Linked DNA regions of Homo sapiens: regions 1, 3, 4 and 5 are each linked to region 2. Evidence: promoter capture Hi-C in 16 types of primary human blood cells and fetal thymus (Javierre and others, 2016). All regions are on one chromosome and are shown on one strand. Each heading gives the region's core, a stretch centred on a gene start or on the middle of the fragment in contact. The rest is flanking DNA. Distances are from core to core; before and after follow the strand shown.

The links. The method cuts DNA at HindIII sites, captures the fragments that hold promoters and counts their contacts. A CHiCAGO score of 5 or more calls a contact.
Region 1: a fragment that was not itself captured here is called in contact with the fragment with the promoter of CERS6-AS1 in region 2 in 1 of 17 cell types (activated CD4 T cells); the score reaches 6.6 in activated CD4 T cells.
Region 3: a contact is called between a fragment that was not itself captured here and the fragment with the promoter of CERS6-AS1 in region 2, in 1 of 17 cell types (total CD4 T cells). The highest score is 5.2, in total CD4 T cells.
Region 4: a contact is called between a fragment that was not itself captured here and the fragment with the promoter of CERS6-AS1 in region 2, in 14 of 17 cell types (naive CD4 T cells, naive CD8 T cells, total CD4 T cells and 11 more). The highest score is 12.1, in naive CD4 T cells.
Region 5: a contact is called between a fragment that was not itself captured here and the fragment with the promoter of CERS6-AS1 in region 2, in 4 of 17 cell types (total CD4 T cells, non-activated CD4 T cells, total CD8 T cells and 1 more). The highest score is 6.8, in total CD4 T cells.

Annotation. Positions count from the first base shown.
Region 1 is chr2:168,288,866-168,291,565 of GRCh38, forward strand. No RefSeq gene overlaps it. Among named protein-coding and RNA genes, the nearest start is that of STK39, 43 kb to the left of the region's middle. The HindIII fragment of the contact is 694 bases long and covers 1,102-1,795 here.
Region 2 is chr2:168,784,843-168,787,723 of GRCh38, forward strand. CERS6-AS1 (CERS6 antisense RNA 1) reads right to left here and starts at 1,587. Exons shown (of 3, transcript NR_045787.1): 1 at 1,515-1,587. It also overlaps a transcript of NOSTRIN not described here. The HindIII fragment of the contact is 3,155 bases long and covers 1-2,881 here.
Region 3 is chr2:168,388,632-168,391,331 of GRCh38, forward strand. The region is part of intron 2 of LOC105373734 (a long non-coding RNA gene); the gene reads right to left. Among named protein-coding and RNA genes, the nearest start is that of CERS6, 66 kb to the right of the region's middle. The HindIII fragment of the contact is 3,412 bases long and covers 1-2,700 here.
Region 4 is chr2:168,326,952-168,329,813 of GRCh38, forward strand. No RefSeq gene overlaps it. Among named protein-coding and RNA genes, the nearest start is that of STK39, 81 kb to the left of the region's middle. The HindIII fragment of the contact is 5,744 bases long and covers 1-2,862 here.
Region 5 is chr2:168,308,662-168,311,544 of GRCh38, forward strand. No RefSeq gene overlaps it. Among named protein-coding and RNA genes, the nearest start is that of STK39, 63 kb to the left of the region's middle. The HindIII fragment of the contact is 3,746 bases long and covers 1-2,883 here.

The DNA of each region.
Region 1 (2,700 bases), core at 199-2,698, 500 kb before region 2:
CATTGAAGAGGAATGTCCCTGGGATTGAGTGAGTGTCATGAGTATCTGTTACATTTATCTAGCACCCCGCCCCCCATCCCCTGAACAATTGCAAGCTTCCAGTCATGTGAGTTTTCTAATTTTTCTACATTTAATCATTTCTGAAACAAGGTGCTGTCCTTATACGATGCTACCTTCCTGGTCAAGTTTGGTCTGGAGTAGGCACCTAGTCAAAGCTGCCTCAATTATAATTTCATGTCCCTTTGGGCACAGGTAACTGGACCAGGTCCCAAAGTCCTCAAGAATTTCCAGTTAAAACTCAGAGAGCTTTAAGTTTGTATTTCCATGGTGGAAGATACAAGATACAATATTAGGGAAACTGCGATGCACTCTTCCTCTAATGGAGAGAAAGTCAGTGCTCTACGTCAGAGAATAAAACCAATACTCAGAGAAGCAAAAATGGATGACAAAATGTCTTGGTTGGGGGACTTCCTTGTACATTTGTTCCTGAGGCCCAGCTACATCAGTGAATATCATGTGTTTGTGCCGGTTTAAACCTCCTTTAGGTTTCATGAACCAATAATTTCCCCTTTGAGCTTAAACTAGGTTTTTGTCACTTGCAGAGAACTACAAAAGGCACACTGCCTATTTTACAGATTACGTAGGATCACCTTGTTTAAAAATTTGAGTTTCAGACCACACACGGCGGCTCACGTCTATATTCCCAGCACTTTGGGAGGCCAAGGTGGGTCGATCACCTGAGGTCAGGAGTTTGAGACTAGCCTGGCCAACATAGTGAAACCCCGTCTCTACTAAAAATACAAAAATTAGCTGGGTGTGGTGGCCCACGCCTGTAGTCCCAGCTACTCAGGAGGCTGAGGTAGGAGAATCACTTGAACCTGGGAGGCAGAGGTTGCAGGGAGCCAAGATCATGCCACTGCACTCCAGCCAAGGTGACAAAGCAAGACTCTGTCTCAAAAAAAAAAAAAAAAAAAATTGAGTTTCAATTATTATTACACAATTTAGGCATCTCAGCTTCTCTTTATGACCTGCATGTTTCTAAAAGTCATACCTTTAAATTAGAATGCTATTTCTGTTAAATGACTATCATGTTTGTGAAAAAGCTTATTTAAAAATTCATTGGAAATTTACAAATGAAATAGTGAAGTGGCTTATGGCATTCTTGTTCCCTCACGTGAAAGAGTCAGAGAATGTGCGTCATCACACAACTACCATAAAAACGGGCTATGCTGGGTTATAAAACAATGTTGTCAACACTTTAAGCCAGGTTTGCATGTCAGAGTGTCTGTCAGTTGAAAATCCTATAAACATTTTTCATAGAGAATTAGTTCTAAGGACATCTCTGTTAAAATATTTCTCTTCTTATTTGTTCACTTTATTTTCTTTATCGTCGCGATTCCTTATTTAAGGACAGGTGACAGGACTTCATGAAGACCTGTTAATAGAATATTATCTTGGTATATGGGGAAGAATATATGATATTTGGAATAGAGGGTGTCTGTGAAGAGTAACGTTAGAATTTGGTTTAAAGAGTTTAAGGAGATGCACCCTTTTGAATTTCTAAATTCGAATTCCTCAGTCTCTTGGGTACTCTGTGAAGCTAATTTATTATGAACGATGGACAGAGCTCCCATTTCCGGGTGCCCTCTTCACGGCAGTGACCAGGGAAGAACATAAATGGTCGGACAGTGCTGCTAAGATGAGGTCGCAGCACAAAAAGTCCCATTCCTCAGGCTGGCTCAACTCCAGCAATAGAGATGAGTCCCAGGGGTTCCTGCATGGTCCCCAGCCAGTAAGCTTTTGCCAGGACTTTCCTAAAGATGCTGTGAGATTTTTTGACACTGAGTAAATAATAAAGAGTAAAGAAATAACTTATTAAATAAAGATGATTGCATTCCTATTACAGGCCTCATGTTAAATCGGAATTGGAGAAAACCCTGTTGGCAGATAGAAAACTTTAAAATCTATTTCATTCCTGTTTTCCCTTTTCCTTTTCTTTTCTTTTTTTTTTTTTTTTTTTTTTTTTTGAGACAGAGTCTCGCTCTGTCACCCAGGCTGGAGTGCAGTGGCGCGATCTCTGTTCACTGCAAGCTCCTCCTCCTGGGTTCATGCCATTCTCCTGCCTCAGCCTCCCAAGTAGCTGGGACTACAGGCACCTGCCACCAAACCCGGCTAATTTTTTTGTATTTTTAGTACAGACAGTGTTTCACCATGTCAGCCAGGATGGTCTCGATCTCTTGACCTCGTGATCCGCCCACCTCGGCCTCCCAAAGTGCTGGGATTACAGGCGTGAGCCACCGTGCCCGGCCCTCTTTTTCTTTGTCCTAACTACAGATTTGCAGAATCCCTGAGAGACTGTAACTACCTATGGCTCTTCTCCCCCTATTAATATTTTTTTAATCTAAAACCAGGGAACCATGAGATATTTGAAGTGGTTGGAGTGACCTCATTGACAGAAGTGTGCATCCCTGAGTTCCATAAAAATGCTTAGAGCCCCCCAAAAATCAGTCATCACCAGCCTTCCCCTCCCTCTATTATTCGTTATGAGATTTAGGGTGATAAGCTGACTGGTTTCAGAAGGAGCCTGAAGAAAATATGGTGCTATTTGGTAGGTACTCATCTATAACGTTGTTACAGAAGCTTTCACTTTTGAGTCAGGCTTGGTGTGCTCTTTGGGTCGATAACATTTCAACAACCTTG
Region 2 (2,881 bases), core at 337-2,836:
TTCAAGTTCACTGTATCAGTCTAATTCACAAAGGGCACATCTCCTTCCTCAGTCTAACCCTGGGAACTTGCAAGGGCAAACATAACCCAGAACACAGGTTCAAAAAGAACCAGTACAAGCAATTCAGTCATTCAATACATTGCAGACTGAAGAATGGAAGCGATCTAGGTAGTAACGCTAGTTTTTTAGGGATCTGGGTTTTAAGAATGGGCTGAAAGACTCATAGGGAAAAAGTCCCAGGGGTGGGTAGTAGGTGAGGGATGAAATGCTACAAAGCGAGTTTATTTTCTGTAACTTGAGTTATAGGAAATAAAAGAGCAGTTCCCAGCCCTCCTCTTTTTGAGTCATAGCTGTTAATTTGATTCATCAGGACTGAACTCTTGGCTCTGGCCAAAGTTCCTGACCCAGAGTGCTAGTTACTGTCTGGCAAGCCATCAAGCAATCCTATGTTAGATTTCAGACTAATTGGAGCTATGTCACCAAAGATGAGTTCAAAAGGGTCCCTAGAGTTTTTAAGAGCAAAGAGTATTGTTTTTCTCTCAGCTGAGGGTACTAGATGGTACATAGAACTGAGCCCTGATGTACTACACTTCTAGTGCTGCCATTTCTTAGTTGTATCACTTAGAAGTCATTTCTGAGGAGTTATAAAATAGTTTGCACTATGCTAACCAGTAGTTTACACTATGCTACATGTACCAAATTGTTTACCCACAGAGCCAGAACACTAATGAAAGCAGTAAAATGCACATCAACATTAAGTCAATAAATGTATTGAGCACCAATCGTTCGAGACATTATGTTAGGCTTTGTGAGGAGTATGAGGAAGTCAGGGGCAAAGCTGCTGCATTGAAGGGGGTCTCAATACAGTTAGGGAGGTAGGCCACAGGCAGAAGTTATTAGCTCTAAAGATTTTTTTTTTTTTTTAAGACAGAGTCTCACTCTGTTGCCCAGGCTGGAGTGCAGTGGCACGGGATCTCAGCTCACTGCAACCTCTGCCTCCCAGGTTCAAGTGATTCTCGTGCCTCAGCCTCCTGAGTAGCTGGAATTACAGGTGCATGCCACCACACCCAGCTAATTTTTTTGTATTTTTAGTAGAGATGGGGTTTCACCATATTGGCCAGGCTGGTCTTGAACTCCTGGCCTCAAGTGATCCACCTGCCTCGGCCTCCCAAAGTGCTAGGATTACAGGCATAAGCCACTGCACACGGCCAGCAAAAGGCTTTTAAAAATAAAAATAAAATCTATAGATATAAGACATTGGTATCATCGTTATATCAAATATGTTGTGAGAATAGTAATTGCCAGAAAAGTTCAGAGGAGAGAGAGGTTGTGTTATAGTAGTCAGGCAGACATCAGCAGGCCAGGAGAGGGCTGCACGCCCAACCAGGAATGTCAGACGACCATCAAGTGATGGTCAGGTGGTTGTTACACTGTTACAATCATTATTTCTCTAAAACAATAATTAGTCACAGCCAGCACGAGGGAAAGGCAATCTCCCGACAGACAGAAAAAACCTGAAACTGGTTATCAGCAGCGTCCCAATAAGATCTCAGGTGTTAGGTAAGTGGGCTCAAGCATGCGCACTATGAGGCAAAATGGGGGAGTTTAACTGGTATATGACCTTCCTCTAGGAACGTTAGATTGGTAATAGAAGAACGTCTCAAGTGAGCATGCGTATAACTCCCGTAAACACACTGCGCATGCAGCCCTTCCCAAGCACTGGTAGGGCACTGGGCATGCAGACAGCCCACCAGAAGGGAAGAATCAGGAGAAAAGGGATGCAAGATCCCAGAGGTATGCCAATATATAAAACCCTAAGGCAAAGGTCAAGCCAGCCACTTGATCCCTCAAGTGGCCAGCTTGGCCCTCCTCGAAGTGTACTTTACTTCCTTTCGTTCCTGCCCTAAAACCTTTTAGTAAACTTTCACTCTTGCTCTAAAACTTGCCTCAGTCTCTCAGTCTGCCTTATTTTTCCTCGGTCAAATTCTTCCCTGCCTCCCCCCTCCTCCAGAGTAGCTGGGACTACAGGCGCCCGCCATCACACCTGGCTAATTTTTTGTATTTTTAGTAGAGACGGGGTTTCACCATGTTGTTCAGGCTGGTCTCGAATGCCTGACCTCAAGTGATCCACCTGCCTCAACCTTCCAAAGTTCTGGGATTACAGGCGTGAGCCACCACACCCGGCCCCAAATTCTTTCTTCTAAGGAGCTAAGAATTGAGTTCGCTGCGGACCCATAAGGATTCGCTGCTCGTAACAGCTGCTTCTGGGATCAGGTAAGAAAAGGTTTCAAGCAGAAAGCTAGGAAGAATGAATAGTATTTGAATGAGTCAAGTGGAAAGAGGAAAGGCATTTGAGACAAAGGGCATAGCGTGAAGCAGTGAGGCAGCCTCCACCCCACTTCCTACCACCTGTTCTCCCCCTTAGTGGCCTGACCTTGACCTTCCACTCCATCCTCATCCCTCCCCATGGGCACTGTCTCAGAATGTGCCATGCCTGTGACAGCTCCAGGACTCTGGCCATACTGCTTACACTGCCACAGAGACCTCTTTCCTCTTCTTCTTCATGTCGCTAACTCTTACTTGGCCTTGAAGACTAATTTGTGTTAGAAGTTAGTCTTCCCAGAAAGCCTTAGCCTTTGGGAATTTGGTGCTCTTCCTTGAGAAGAAAAGGTACAACCATTTAACTCCATCAGAACACTTATCACACGGCCTTCCCCACTGGACTCAATGGAAGCATCTTGAGGGCAAAGGCCTTACCTTTTATAGCTGATCCTTATCAGCCACAGTGTCCACTACACAGCAGGTGCCCAATAAATTCCTGTAGAATGAATATGCATTTACAGAAAGAGGAGCTGTGAGAAGATGCCTCAGTTTTTGGAAA
Region 3 (2,700 bases), core at 83-2,582, 400 kb before region 2:
GAGAAAGATACTTGCACACACATGTTTATAACAGCACAATTCACAATTGCAAAAACATGGAACCAACCCAAATTCCTATCAATCAATGAGTGGATAAAGAAACCGTGGTGTATATATATATATACGTGTGTGTGTATATATATATATATATATATATATATATATATATATATATATATACACGTATATATATATACACGTATATATATATATACACATATATATATATATACACGTGTATATATATATACACGTGTGTATATATATGATGGAATACTACTTAGCCATAAAAGGAATGAATGAATGGCATTACAGAGACATGGATGAGATTGGAGACCATTATTCTAAGTGAAGTAACTCAGGAATGGAAAACAAAACATCATATGTTCTCACTCATAAGTGGGAGCTGAGCCATGAGAATGCAAAGGCATAAGAATGACACAATGGACTCTGGGGACTCAGGGGGAAAGGGTGAGAAGGGGGTGAGGGACAAAAGACTACAAATGGGGGGCAGTGTATACTGCTCGGGTGATGGGTGCATCAAAATCTCACAAATCACTAAAGAACTTACTCACGTAACCAAAAAATACCTGTTCCCCAATAACCTATGGAAATAATTTTTTTTAAGTACGGGTAATAAAAGCAAAAATAGACAAATGGGATTACATTGGGCTACAAAGCTCCTGCATGGCAAAGGAATGATCAATAGAGTGAAGAGACAACCCATGATTGGGAGAATGTATTTGCAAATCCTACATCTAGTAAGAGGCTCATATCCAAAATATACAAGGAACTCAAACTACTCAACAAGAAGAAAACAAATAATCCTATTAAAAATTAGGCAAAGAACTTGAAGAGATAGCTTTCAAAATAAGACACACAAATGGCCAACAGACAAATAAAAAGTGCTCAACATCCCTAATCATGAGAGAAGTGAAAATTAGGACTACAATGAGCTAATAATGCCTCACACCTGTTAGACTGGCTATCATCAAAAAGATGAAAGATAACACGTGTTGCCAAGAATATGGAGAAATGGGAAACTTTGTACATTGTTGGTCAGAATTAAATTAGTACAGCCATTTTGGAAAACAGTAGGAAAGCCCCTTAAAGAACTAAAAATAAAATTAATTACCATAGGATCCAGCAACTCCACCAATGAGTATATATCCAAAAGAATTGAAATTAGTATGCCATAGTGATGTCTGAGCTCCCATGTTTATTACAGCATTATTCACAATAGCCAAGATATGGAAACAACCTAAGTGTCTATCACTGGATGAATGAATTTTAGAAATGTGGCATATATACACAATAGATTATTCATCCATAAAATAACCAGGAAATTCTATCATTTGTGACAACATGGATGAAACTAGAGGCCATTAAGTGAAATAAGCTAGGCACCAAAAGACAAATACCACATTCTCTCTTATGGTATGAGTTCACACTCGTATTATGTGAACTCTAACAAAAGCTAGCCTCATGGAAGCCGAGAGTAGAACAGTGGTTACCGGAGGCTAGGAGGGAGGGTTAAAAAAATGGAAGAGGGGATGTTGGTCAATGGGTACAAAGTTTCTATTACATAGGAGGAATAAGATATGGTGTTCTATTGCACAGTAGAGTGACTATAGGTAATAACAATGTATTATGTATTTCAAAATAGCTAGAAGATAGGATTTTGAATAATTTCACTAGAAAGAAATGATAAATCTTAGGCTGGGCATGGTGGCTCACGCCTTTAATCCCACACTTTGGGAGGCCGAGGTGGGTGGATCACCTGAGGTCAGGAATTGGAGACCAGCCTGACCAACACGGAGAAGTCTCTACTAAAAATACAAAATTAGCCAGGCATGGTGGCACACACCTATAATCCCAGCTACTTCGGAGGCTGAGGCAGGAGAATTGCTTGAATCCGGGAGGTGGAGTTTGCAGTGAGCCGAGATCACCCATTACACTCCAGCCTGGGCAACAAGAGTGAAACTCCGTCTTGAAAAAAAAAAAAAAGATAACTCTTTGGGGTGATAAATATACTAATTACCTAATTTGATAATTACAAAATGTATGTACGTATCAAAACATCACATTGTAGCCCATAAATATGTATAATTACTATTTATCAATTAAAAATTAAAAATTAAACTAAAAAAAAAACAGTACTCCTGAAACACAGTTTTCTCTACTCTTATCTATTTCAATGCCCATTCCAACAATACCTGTACCTGGATAACTATTAATTTTAAGTATTCTTTATGGGGAAAATATCCAAGTTTTCTACTCGTTTCTCTGTTTCAGTTCAGATACGATTGCAAAAGAATTAATGTATTTCTTGTAATGATTCTTGTCTTTCTAGTTCAGAGATTTTATAACCTGCTAGAGAAATGAACATTCTGTCTTTCTGATTTTGGTTTGAAATTTGACATACACTTTTGCCAGGAGAAAATCTTTTATACATGTCAAAGGAGGAAAAGAAGTAGTTCAATCCTCTTGTGTTTTCTTTGAAGAAAGAAGGAAAGGTTTAATTTGGACAGGTATGATGCTCATAGAAATTCTGATAAAAGAATTCATCAGTGGACAGAAAGTGAACACACTTTCAAAATTTCAGTACTGTTTCTTGGCTTCATTATTAATAGACTTTCCATTTGATTGAGAAGGGGATACGCAGTTAAGAATATAACATTTTTGAAGTAACACTGTAAA
Region 4 (2,862 bases), core at 321-2,820, 460 kb before region 2:
CTCTCTGATGGTTTAACCTTGGAGACCGCAGAGGTTATTCCTCCAGAGCTTAAACTTGTGTATTACATAATTCTAGTATATTTATTTCTGTGAACTCTTTTGGAACTGAGAATTATAAGATCAAGTATATGTGACTCTCTAGTCACTCCAAGTAGAAATTTAGGGAGCATGACTCCAACCTCTAATGAAACCAGAAAGGTAGGAATAAAAAAAAAAAGTCACTTAATATGCAAATTATTGATACATGGCAATAAAACAAAATGAGTTTTAAGGTATTTTTAAAACTAGGAATGTGATATAGAGGTGGTGGGATAGTAAATTTTATGTGTCAACTGGGCTGGACCATGGGGTACCCAGATATTTGGTCAAACATTCTTCTGAGTATTTCTGTGAGGGTTTTTGGATGAACTTAACATTTACATTGGTGGACTTTGATTAGAACAGATTGTGGGTGGGCTTTATCCAGTAAGTTGAAGTCCTGAGTGGAACCAAAAAATGGCCTCCCTGAGCAAGCGGGGATTTTCCTTTGGACTTCATCTACAACCAGCTCTTCCTGGTTCTACAGGAAGTAGATCAGACTTCATCTACATCAGCTCTTCCTGGTTCTACAGCAGCCTACCGGCCTTTGGATTCGAACTGGACACAGGTTCTCCTGGATCTCCAACCTGCCAGCCACTTTGCAGATATTGGACTTGCCAGTCTCCATAACCACATGACCCAATTCCTTATAATAAATCCCTTTCTCTCTCTTCATACATATATATATACACATATATACATGCTATTGGCTTTGTTTCTCTGGAGTATCCTGACTAATATAGGTGGTAGATGAGATCTTTAAGTGTTTAAGTAAGGGGAGGAAAAACATGATCATAGTGATTTTCAAACAGGTCACAGATTTGTTGACATTCTTATCAAAAGGTGACAAGTATGTCATCACCTGTTGAATCTTGGTGGGCTTGTGACTGCTTGGATCAAAAAGTATGACAGAAGTGGGACTGTGAAACTTCTGAGGCTATATCATAAAAGTCATGCAGCTTTCACCTTGTTCAATGAACACATACTCTTGGAGCCCTGAGGGGCCATGTATAAATGCTGAATACAGTGCTTTTTCTGGAGGGGCTCAAAGATGGCTGACTAGAGACATTTTGTACTCACCTCTTCTACTAAGAAGAACCAAAATTGTGAGATTATTACACTTGGAATAGATCATCCAAGAGAGAACACTAGAATTCAATGGAAAAGTGACAGGAACTACCTAAAGCAAGAAAGGAGAAGAAAGTGAAGCAATCTGCTGAACTGGAATTGGCTAGAAGCTGAGAGAGACTCCTCAATGTGGAGAAAGGGTAAATGAGAGATTCTCAGTGGTCTACATTTCTGCTTTGGACTTTTGCAATCCTAGCCATGGGAAATCCCCTAGACTCTTGTAAGCCCTGAAACTAACATATGGAGCTGCCAGGAGATTGTATGATGGCATTGCTCCTGGCTCCTGGGTCAGGGTGGGGTGCTTGCATTGGGTCCCACACACTCTCTGAGACATAAGCAGCTCCAGCAAGGTGTCATTTTAGAGCCCTACCTCCAGTGGGCTGTGTACTATCCAGGGGCCCAACAGCGCTAGATCTGAGGAACAAGTGAAGCATGGGCTGCTGCCCCCAAGGCCTAGGCATAAGCAACTGCAAGCTACAACACCCACAACTGAGATGTGAGTGAGGCACTGGCTTCTGCAGCAAGTGTTGAAGTGCAGGCACTGCTGGCATGAATGGTGTGTGCATTCTCCACCTGCTGGCCTACGCTACTCACCACTGAAGGCAGCACTACCCTCCCCAGTGGCAGGGCAGCAGTGCAGTCATTTGTGGTCCATACCAGACCATTCTGCCAGTAGCCTGGGCATTGCTCTGCCCCAGCCTACCATGGCTGGTGCCTGCACACACAATCAGAGAGCCTGAGGACAAGCCCATCTGGCTGAGCTTAGATCCCCCAACACACTGTGCCAGAGCACACAATCCAGGGACCAGGGTGTTGTCCACGCCAGTCCACATAACTGGAACAAGAACACTCCTCACTAAACCCCAAGTTTGGACCTACTCACTGAGCCACTAACACTATAGCTGGCACCTGCCTGCATGTGCTACCTGTGGGCCCAAAGACTGGTCTGCCCAGCCCATCTCAGCCACTGACAACACTATCACACACAGCTTGGGACCCAGTGGTCATCATACCACTGCTACTGTCATTGTCACACCATCCTGGCTGCCAAAGGGCTAAAGAACCACCCCCACCTGCCTGGTCCACTGCTACCACTACCAGCATCCAAGTAAGCCACATGGAGGCCAAAAATTGGGCTGCCTTGGTCCACTAATATAAGTGCCAGTATATGCAGCCCTGGGATCCAGGAACAGGTGCATTCAACCCACCACTGCCACCCCTGGGGCTCAAAGACTGGCCTACCTGCTGTCCCAGGCCCCAGCAAAACTTTACCACAGTCTCCAGTAATAACTGCACCCTAAGCCATGGAGGAAATTATAGATACTACTAATACTGTTTACAGCTGAAGAAATCATACAGAGACTAAACTACTGCACACACCAAGAATCAAAGACAGTGTGTTACCCAACCAACATCATGGATACATCTTCAGGAAAAAGTCCTCCCCCATGAAAGCAAATTCAAAAAAATTGGAAGAAGCAACTGTTACACCAAATGTGCAGATATCAATATAAGGACACAGGAACCAAAAAGCAAGAAAATATGACACTTCCAAAGGAACACAATAATTCTTTAGCAACAGATCCCAATCAAAAAGAAATTAATAAATCCCAGAAAAAGAATTCAAATGATTGATTCTAAAGTAGGTCAGTGATA
Region 5 (2,883 bases), core at 373-2,872, 480 kb before region 2:
TGGTTTCAAACTCCTGTTCTCAAGCAATCCACCCACCTTGGCCTCCCAAAGTATTGGGATTACAGGTATGAGCCACTGTGCCTTACCCAGATGATTTCTTATTGCTCATTGACATTTCTTTTTTTTCACATTGAAGACCTCCCTTTACCATTTCTTATAGGATAGTTCTGGTTTTGATGAAATCCTTCAGGTTCTGTTTGTCTGGCAAGGTCTTCATTTCTCCTTCATGTTTGAAGGATATTTTCACCAGATATACTATTCTAGGATAAAAGGTTTTTTTCTTTAGTGCTTTAAGTATATTATGTCACTCTTTCCTGGCCTATAAAGTTTTCACTGAAAAGTCTGATGCCAGATGTATTGGAGCTCCATTGTATGTTGATTCTTTTCTCTTGCTGCTTTTAGGATCCTTTCTTTATCCTTGACTTTGGGAGTTTGATTCTTAAATGCCTTGAGGTAATCTTCTTTGGGTCAAATGGTGTTTTATAACCTTCTTGCACTTGAATGTTGATATCTTTCTCTAGGTTTGGGAAATTCTTTGATATTATTCCTTTGAATAAACTTTCTATCCCTTCCTCTTTCTCTACCTCCTCTTTAAGCCCAACAACTCTTAGATTTGTCCTTTTGAGGCTATTTTCTAGACCTAGTAGGCATGCTTCATTCTTTTTTATTCTTTTTTTCTTTTGTCTCCTCTGACTGTGTATTTTCAAATGGTCTGCCTTCAAGCTCACTAATTCTTTCTTCTTCTTGATCAATTCTGCTATTAAGAGACCTGATGCATTCTTCAGTATGTCAGTTGCATTTTTCAGCTCCAGAATTTCTGCTTGATTCTTTTCAATTATTTTAATCTCTTTGTGAAATTTATCTGATAGAATTCTGAATTCCTTCTCTGTGTCATCTTGAATTTCATTGTATTTCTCCAAAATAGAAATTTTGAACTCTCTGAAAGGCCATATATCTTCGGTTCTCCAGAATTTGTCCCTGGTGGCTTATTTAGTTTGTTTGGTGAGGTCCTATTTTCCTGGATGGTCTTGATGCTTGTGGATGTTTTTAAGTGTCAGTTAGGTATTTATTGAAGTCTTCACAGTCTGGGCTTGTTTGTGTCTGTCTTCTTGGCAAGGCTTTCCAGGTACTCAGAGCAACTTGGTCCCCAACCCCAATAACACTATGGTTCCTGCAGACTCACAGAGGTACCACATTGGTGACCTTGGATAAAATTCAGAAGAATAATCTGGATTACCATGCAGAGACTTTTGTTTTCTTCCCTGACTCTTTCCCAAACAAATGGAGTCTCTCTCTTTCTCTATCTCTGTGCTGAGCCACTTGAAACCGTAGGTGTGGTGATATAAGCACCCCTGTTGCCACCACTGCTGGGACTGTACTTTGTCAGACCTGAAGCCAGCACAGCACCGAGGTTACCCAAGGCCCACTGTAACCACTGCCTGGCTACCACCTAAGTTCACTCAAGGCCCCAGGGCTCTGTAATCAGCAGGTGGTAAAGCCAGCCAGGTTTGTGCCCTTCCCTTAAAGGCAACAAGTTCCTCAAGGCCCTGGGCAGGTCCAGAGCTGTTGTCTGAGAGCCAGAGATTGGAGTAAAAAACCTTAGGATTTTGCCTGATGTTCTTTTTTACTGCAGCTAAGCTGGCACTCAAACCAGAAGAGAAAATCCTTCTTGCTCTTCCTTCCCCTTTCCACAGGCAGAGGAGCATCTCCCTGTGGCCACTGCCACCACAGGCCCAGAGGTGAGGGGTGTATTCTCCCACACCACTGCAGATGTTCACTTAAAGCCCAAGGGCTCTTCAGTCAGTTTGTAGTGAATGCTACGAGGACCAGGACTCATCCTTCAGGGTAGTAGGCTACCCTCATGCCCTGGGCAGGCCCTAAAATGCTATCCAAGAGCCTAGGCCTGGACTCGAGGACTGCAAGAGCCTGCTTGTTGCTCTACCCCACTGTGGCTGTGCTGGTACCCAAGGTACAAGACAAAGTCCCTTTTACTTTCCCTCTGCTTTTCTCAAATGGAAGGAGTCTAAAGGAGTTTTTCACTGTAGCTGTCACACCTGGAAATGTGCCACGTCACACCTGAACTCAGCACATTCTCAAAGCCCAAGGCCCACAGTGTACTACTTGGGTGTTGCTGCTGGTTATTCAGGACCCAAGGGCTCTTTAGTCAGCAGGTGATTAATCCTTCCAGGACTGAGTCCTTCCCTTCAAGGCAAGGGGTTCCCATTTTTCCAGTGGGTTCCCAGAGTGTGTCTATAAATGTCCATGATCCAGGGTCTGGAATGGGGGGATACCTCATAACTCTGCCCAGTGCTCTATCTTACTGTGGCTGAGCTAGTATCCAAGATACAAGATGAAGTCCTGTTTACTCTTTTATTTCCTCCCCTTAAGCAAAAGGAAGGAGTCACTTTCATTGCTGTGAGCTGCACTGCTTAGGGTTGAAGAAAGAGTGGCACAAGCACTCTTTTAGCTGTTCCAGCTGGTGAGGTACCAGGTCACCCTAGTCCTCTTCTCTGAGCCCAGCTCAACACTAGGAGTTGCTTAGGAATTGCAGGCCTCATGTCCTAGACTGTCTTTCAAGTTTACCTAAGACCCAAGAGCACTTTGGCCTGCGGTGGCAAGGCTTGCCAAGAAACTCAAGTTCTGACCACCAGATGGGCAATTCCCCTCTGGCTAGGTCTGGTCCAAATGTCCCATCCTTGATCAGGTGCTGGCTGAACCCAGCATGGTTTTGTTTTCCTCTATGACAGGGCAGCAGTGAGTTCAATGTAAAGTCCTCCAAGTGCACAGACTCTCCACCCTGCACAGCTGCTGCCCAGGGATGGGGGAGGGGTGGTGTTGGTGATTCAAGACTGTCTCTCCAACTCTCTTTAATGCCTCTTTTGG